Regions from separate parts of the Homo sapiens genome. Here region 2 is linked to region 1. The links are contacts of gene promoters, found by promoter capture Hi-C in human tissues and cell types (Jung and others, 2019). All regions are on one chromosome and are shown on one strand. The core of a region is centred on a gene start or on the middle of the fragment in contact, and the rest is flanking DNA. Distances in the headings are between cores, read along the strand shown.

Region 1 (3,841 bases), core at 57-2,556:
GTTTACAAGGGGTTTTAGAAGACAGACACACAAGAACCTTTCAAAGACAATATGCTTAATTTAGTGAGAATTGTGTGGTATACAGCAGATGTGCTGTAGGAGTTCAGGGAAGGGGGGCAGGAGTCGTCATGGAGACATGGGAATTTGTGTTGGATCTGAGATGGCACAAGATTTAGGCAGAGAGGAGGAGAGAGGACCTTCCAGGTAAGGGGAGGGATGGGAGAAAAGGCTGGGGGAAGGAAGGAGCTCAGCAAGGGTCCATGACAGCTCCTTTCCCCTCTCCTGTTTCCACAGTGGTTCCCAAGTTTCTTCACAACAGAAAAGCAGGCATCTGCTCTCCTTACTATCACGGTTTTGTTTCTTTGTGTTTTGTGTTTGTTGTTGTTGTTGTTGTTGTTTTTGAGACGGGGTCTCACTCTGTTGCCCATGCTGAAGTGTGGTGGTAAGATCTTGGCTCACTGCAACCTCAACCTTCTGGGCTCAAGTGACTCTCCCACCTCAGCCTCCTCAGTAGCTGGGACCACAGGCATGCACCACAACGCCTGGCTAATTTTTATATTTTTTGTAGAGATGGGGTCTCGCTATGCTGCCTAGGCCAGTCCCAAACTCCTGGGCTCAAATGATCTGCCCTCCTAAAGTGCTGGGATTACAGGCTTGAGCCACTGTGCCCAGCCATGTTTTTGTTAATCTTTTTTTTTTTTTTTTTTTTGAGATGGAGTCTCGCTCTGTTGTCCAGGCTGGAGTCGGGGTGGCATGATCTCGGCTCACTGCAACCTCCGCCTCTCAGGTTCAAGAGATTCTCCGCCCCAGCCTCCTGAGTAGCTGGGATTACAGGCGCATACCACATGCCCAGCTAATTTTTTGTAATTTTAGTAGAGACGGGGTTTCACCATGATGGCCAAGCTGGTTTCGAACTCCTGACCTCAAGTGAATCCGCCTGCCTTGGCCTCCCAAAGTGCTAGGATTATAGGTGTGAGCTACTGCGCCCAGCCTTGTTAATCTATTAACAAAATGTTATAATGACAAAATACTCCAGAAGTTCCACAAATCCTTTTATAAAGGGCCCTACCTGTCCTTCCTGGCTGAGGCATTTACAGGTGATTCTCACTTCTCACAAAGATAAATGTGTCAGGTGTTTCCTTTTCATTGCTCCTTTTGTCATCTTTCCTCTCCCTTCCTTCTGCCATACTCATTAACTCCACTGGTTGATTAGACAAGGGACTGATCCCTATCCTGCCGTAAAAGAAAGCTTCTGTTTGGACCAGCATGTGGGAGAAACATGCTGACCTTGCCTTAGTCAGGATCTAGAGAAATTTTTCATTTTTCAATCAAGGTTCATGTTTCCATTGGTTTACACGTTCCATCTAAGTTACCATCCCCCTTGTGAACCACGTCAGCCAGACCAACAGCAAAGTGGGGGTTGTGGGTCAGAAGGAAATCACCTGTGTTAGAATTTCCTCTCCCCTACCCTCACCCTGTCCCATCATTTCTTTGTTTTCTTTTTTTTTAAGGGACAGAGTTTCTCGCTCTTTCATCCAGACTGGAGTGCAGTGTTATGACCTTGGCTCACTACAACCTCCACCTCTGGTTTTCAAGTGATTCTCGCGCCTCAGCCTCCTGAGTAGCTGGGATTACCTGTGTGAGCCACCACACCCGGCTAATATTAATATTTTTTTAGTAAAGACAGGGTTTCACCATGTTAGCCAAGCTGGTCTCAAACTCCTGGCCTCAAGTGATCCACCTGCCTCAGCCTCCCAAAGTGCTGGGATTACAGGCATGAGCCACCCGCACCCAGCCTTCCCATCTTTTTTTTTTTTTTTTTTTTTTGAGCCGGAGTCTGGCTCTGTCGCCCAGGCTGGAGTGCAGTGGCGCGATGTCGGCTCACTGCAAGCTCCGCCTCCCGGGTTCACGCCATTCTCCTGCCTGAGCCTCCCGAATAGCTGGGACTACAGGCGCCTGCCACCGCGCTCAGCTAATTTTTTTGTGTTTTTAGCAGAGACGGGGTTTCACTGTGTTAGCCAGGATGGTCTCGATCTCCTGACCTCGTGATCCGCCCGCCTCGGCCTCCCAAAGTGCTGGGATTACAGGCGTGAGCCACCTCGCCCGGCCTCCCATCATTTCTTGATGGGCTATATTGTCAGCAAACATTTACCAAATACATAATTAGTAGTCATCATGGATATGCCAGCAAATATCACGTGGTTTTTCTGACTTTGGGGATTTGTTGTCTAATTGGATAAAATGGGCTTTTCTTGTTGGAGGCAGCAACAGAGCCTTTCAGAGGTCAAGAGCAAGCTGGTTACTCTTTTTTTTTTTTTTTTTTTTTTTTGAGACGGAGTCTTTGTTGCCCAGGCTGGAGTGCAGTGGCACGATCTCGGCTCACTGCAAACTCCGCCTCCCGGGTTCACGCCATTCTCCTGCCTCAGCCTCCCGAGTAGCTGGGACTACAGGGGCCCGCCACCAAGCTCGGCTAATTTTTTGTATTTTTGTAGTAGAGACGGGGTTTCAACGTGTTAGCCAGGATGGTGTCAATCTCCTGACCTCATGATCTGCCGGCCTCGGCCTCCCATGGTGCTGGGATTATAGGCGTGAGCCATCGCGCCCGGCCTCGTTACTCCTTTTTGAGACCCCAGTTATATTTTTAAAAATGAAGTGCCAAAACTCAATTTTAAAAAGTTTTGGTAGATTTTTAATGTGTATGCTTAAGGTTTTTGTTTGTTTGTTTTTGAGACAGAGTCTTGTGTCGCCCAGGCTGGAGTACAGTGGCACAGTCTTGGCTCACTGCAACCTCCACCTCCCAGGTTCAAGCCATTCTCCTGCCTTAGCCTCCTGAGTAGCTGGGATTACAGGTACCCACCACCATGCCCAGCTAATTTTTGTATTTTTAGTGTAGACGGGGTTTTGCCATGTTGGTCAGGCTGGTCTCAAACTCCTGACCTCAAGTGATCCACTCGCCTTGGCCTCCCAAAGTGCTGAGATTACAGGCATGAGCCACTGCACCTGGGCAAGTTATCATTTTTTAACACAAACAATTACAATGAGTTTCTTTTGAAATAATTTTTAAAAAATTGAAATTGACATGAATGTTCATAGCAACATAGGGAGACCCCCGTCTCTACAAAACATAAAAATACCAGCCTGAGCAACATGGCAAAACCCCATCTCTACAAAAAATACAAAGATAGCTGGGCATGGTGGCATGCACCTCTGGTCCCAGCTGAGCCCAGGAGTTCAAGGCTGTAGTGAGCTGTGATCATGCCACGGCATTCCAGCCTAGGCAACAAAGCAAGACCTTGTCTTAAAAAAAAAGAATCCAGAGAGAGGATCAGGCAGTTAGTGCCTTCATTAGACCACACTATCCCATCAACACCAAACTGTTGTTTGGAGGGCTTCAGCTCACAGCACCATGCAATTTCCTAACGCTTCTGAGTTTGAGACTCCCCTAGACAGAAGCTAAGTGGAGCACATCAGACTTCCAAAAGCCTCTGCAAAGCAACGTGGTATTGTGGGAAAATGGTAGATGCAAGTTCAAATAACCTACTGCTAATAATAAATGTGTGACTTTGTGAAAATTACTTTATCCTTCTGACTTTTACTTTCATCATTTGTAAAACGAGAAGAAGACTATCTCATGGGTCTCTTGCATGTGGTTCCCAACCAGGCTGCATGTTAAAATCGCAGTTTAAAAATGTGACAGCCTGAGTCACACCTCCTGCAAGTTAAATTGGTGTCTCCAAGGGTGAGATCCAGACACCAGTAGATTTTTAAAGCTTCACACGTCATTCTAATCTGCATCCAGGATTGAAAATCACTCGTGAAGCCAGGTGCGGTCGCTCACGCC
Region 2 (3,841 bases), core at 396-2,895, 140 kb before region 1:
TGGCGTGATCTCAGCTCACTGCAACCTCTACTTCCTGATATCAAACAATCCTCCCACCTCAGCCTCCCAAGCAGCTGGGACTACAGGCATGCACCACCATGCCTGCCTAATTTTTTTTTTTTTTTTTTTTTTTTTGTAGAGACAGAGTTTCACCATGTTGCCCAGGCTGGTCTTGAACTCCTGGGCTCAAGTGATCTGCCCACCTCAGCCTCCCAAAGTGCTGGGATTACAGGCCTGAGCCACTGTGCCCGGCTCATCATTTTTATATGGTAGAGGTTTAAGTCAGGAATTTAGTTAGAAGGGATTAATCAGGAGTCTTCTTTCTGGGCTACCTTTACCTAGCAAACATCCTGTGTTTACTTAGACTAGGGTTCCTCAACCTCAGTAGTACAGACATTTTCAGCAAGATAATTCTTTGTTCTGGTGGTTGTCCTGTGCATTGTGGAATGTTTAGCAGCATCTCTGGCCTCTGCCTGCTAGATGCCAATAGCACCTCTCCCTTCAGATATGACAACCACAAATGTCTCCAGATATTGCCAAATTTCCCCCAGGGAGGGCGGCTAATCATTGCAGGTTGAGAACCACGTACAGCATGTTTATGATAGAAGGGAGAGGACTGTCAGGCAGTTTTGTGTGTGTTTTTAAACAATTAAAGGGCATTGCCAATACTGTGGATTTTAGCTTCTTTGGAAGTTTGATGTGAAAGGAGGCAAAAATCCTTCTTGCACATCAGCTTAAGGTTTTGCCCATATCGTATTCAAACAAAACCACATGGCTGGCACATAGTGGCTCTCAATAAATATATAATAAGTTGAATGCACTATTCAGCACATAGCTAAAGTGGTGGTGCCTCCAGGGAGGGACGTGAAACTTAAAAAGGAAAGACTGGAGTAGCTACTCAGGAGGCTGAGGCGAGAGGACTTGAGCCCAGGAGTTCGAGGCTGCAGTGTGAGCTACGATCCAGCCACGGCACTCCAGCCTGGGCAACAGCGGACGCCCAGACTCAGAATCCATGACAGACTCTGGAGCGAAGGAACAAGTTCAGGGATGTTCCACAATCACGCGATTCCCAGGACAGGAAAGGGGCCGGTGGGGGTCGCAGAGCTCGACCAAATTCTGGGCAGACTACTCATCCGGCGGCAGGAAGAGCGCGGCGCGCACCGGGCCCGCGCGCACCGGCTCGCGCCGCACCCCCGGCCGGAGAAAGTCGCGCTTGTTCTGCGCCAGGCACAGCAGCCGCCCGGGCTCGGTGTCGTGGCCGTCCAGCACTTCCAGCTCCACGGCGAAGGGCGTCCGCACGTCGCGCTTCACCAGCCGCACCAAGGCTTTCTCGGGCTCCAACGCCCACAGCAGCCCCATGGGCTGGAGCCCCGCGAAGCTGCCTCCCAGCGCGGGCGCGCGCTCCAGGTCCAGCTCGTCGCGGGCGTCGGCACGGTAGCGCGCGTGGGCCCGGAAGAGCGCGCCCTCTTCGTCGCGCAGGGACGTGCGCAGCGTGACTGGCTGCTCCGGGGCCAGGCCGCGCACTGCGATGCGCAGCGGCTCGTCCCAGCAGCAGCGGCCCGCGGGCTCCAGGATCAGCGTCGCTGCCATCCCAATCTGGGTAGAACAGGGGCGACCCAGCTCCGCGGAGTCAGTGGGCGGGCCTGGCGGCTTTGCCGAGCGCTGGAAAGTAGTCGAGGGCGGAGCCCTTAACACTACTCCCATTGGTTGGACTTGGGGACAGGCTCCAGGCCGCTGCGTGGGGCGCCTAGAATTTGTGCAAATACACCAGTGTCCCAAATGAAAGAGTATCTGCTGAAATAAGAGTTAATGACCAATCCGGCCGGGGGCGGTGGATCACGCCTGTGATCCTAGAACTTTGGGAGGCCGAGGTGGGTGGATCACACCTGAGGTTAGGAGTTCAAGACCAGCCTGACCAACAGAGTGAAACCTCATCTCTACTGAAAATACAAAATAGCCAGGTGTGGTGGCGCATGCCTGTAATCCCGGCTACTTGGGAGGCTGAGGCAGAAGAATTGCTTGAACCCAGGAGGCAGAGGTTGCATTGAGCCAAGATTGCACCATTGTACTCCAGCCTAGGCAACAAGGGCAAAACTCCGTCTAAAAAAAAAAAAAAAGAGTTAATGACTATTCCTGCAATCCAATGTGGTGAGTGTCGAAATAGAGGCACAAAAACCACTGAGAGCTAAAGGATTGAGAGAGATACAGTCCAAGAATCTAGATTTTGAAAAAGCATCCCAGGTGATTGTACTCAGGTGACCCCTTGGAGAAACATGGTCGTAATCCGTCCTTTACCCCTCAGTCCCTTACCAAGCCTTTTTTCCAGGGCTAATGGTACCTGGAGCAAAGCAGATGTTTAGGGAGGCAGACCTAGCCGAGTTCTGGTCTGACCCTGATCCTTAATATTAATACCTGGTGATCTTTAGCAAGAAACATAACCCTCTAAATTCAGTTTTCTTATCTGAAAAGGCTTATTGTGACCATTAAATGGGCTAATGTGTAAAAACACTACACTGACACACCTGTAGGTTAGTACCCAGTGAAAGTTTTGTTTTGTTTCTTACCTCACAAATCTAATCACTGGCAGAGTCCATTTTGGGTTGTATGCATACAGAGTTCTGGCAGTAAGCAAGTGGCACTCTCAGCCTGTGTAATTGAGGAGAGTTTTATAAAGGTACTATCTACAAAGGCATGGGCAAGATTTAAAAACAAAAACAATGAAACAAGATTCGGTGTAGAACCCTGAATCTGAAGGTTCAAGGGAAGGGGGCAGTCTGATAGGAGTTGTACCTTTTTTAGAAGGAACCTATGGTTTGTGGCAGGAAGGAGGAGACTATAAGTCCCTTGACTCTCCTCTTGTTTTTCAGTATCTTGCTAATGCCTCTCTTTGGCCAAACCCAACCACACAGCTCAACCTAGCTGGGAACATAGCAGGGTGGAGAAGGAAGAAGAGCATATAGTGATGCCCAGCTCAGTAAACATGTATAAACTGAACAAAAAGGTATTAGACTCTATGAAGCAAGTTCACTGTATGCTGGTTACCAACTTGTCTGAGTCCAGTGAGAAAACACATTCATATATTTAATACAACAATTTACATGAACTGGATTTATTACTTACAGATAGGCAGCAAAGAATGACAGAAGCCTAAGAATCATTGGAAACCAGTCCCCCAAGGCTCAGGAATGCTGCCTGGGTGATGGAATCTCATGTGTGTGTGCCCCACTTGCACTGCAGCTGCCCTGAGTTTTGTACTCTGGGGTCATGTGACTGCTGGGTTAAAGCATTGAAAGACATCCTGTTTGTAGGGAGGGGCTGGAATAGAGCCAGGGCTATTCCAGCCAGTCCGTCCCTCTCTCAGGATGTTACATTCCCAGCACGTTCTATGCTTGAGAACTACTAGTGAGAAAGAGGGGAGAACTGAGTCAGTCCAAGGCCAACCAGAGAACTGCCCTGCAGTCCATCCCCAACCCAGATACCTCCTTTAGTAAACCTAGTACATTTCATATGCCCTCCAGACCCCCAGGATCTGGAGGCAGAGGTTTGTCTGATCATATTAATATGGCACCTTGGTCGGGCACGGTGGCTAATGCCTGTAATCCCAGCACTTTGGGAGGCCGAGGGGGGCGGATGACTTGGGGTCAGGAGTTTGAGACCAGCCTGGCCAACATGGTGAAACCCTGTCTCTACTAAAAATACAAAAATTAGCTGAACGTGGCAGCACGCGCCTGTAATCCCAGCTATTCAGAAGGCGGCGGCAGGAGAATTGCTTGAACCCGGGAGGTGGTGATTGCAGTGAGCCGAGATCTCGCCACTGCTCTCCAGCCTGAGCGACAGAGCA

Evidence for each region. The method cuts DNA at HindIII sites, captures the fragments that hold promoters and counts their contacts. A contact is called where the count stands out against the background at its distance.
Region 2: a contact is called between the fragment with the promoter of ACOT6 here and a fragment that was not itself captured in region 1, in 4 of the 25 tissues and cell types used here (IMR-90 fibroblasts, adrenal gland, lymphoblastoid cells and 1 more).

What each region holds. Positions count from the first base shown.
Region 1 is chr14:73,472,700-73,476,540 of GRCh38, reverse strand. No RefSeq gene overlaps it. Among named protein-coding and RNA genes, the nearest start is that of NUMB, 16 kb to the right of the region's middle. The HindIII fragment of the contact is 5,447 bases long and covers 1-3,841 here.
Region 2 is chr14:73,610,321-73,614,161 of GRCh38, reverse strand. ACOT6 (acyl-CoA thioesterase 6) reads right to left here and starts at 1,645. Exons shown (of 3, transcript NM_001365788.1): 1 at 1,130-1,645. The coding sequence starts at 1,590. It also overlaps a transcript of HEATR4 not described here. RefSeq lists a silencer at 65-309 and enhancers at 1,385-1,434, 968-1,467, 1,485-1,534. The HindIII fragment of the contact is 22,654 bases long and covers 1-3,841 here.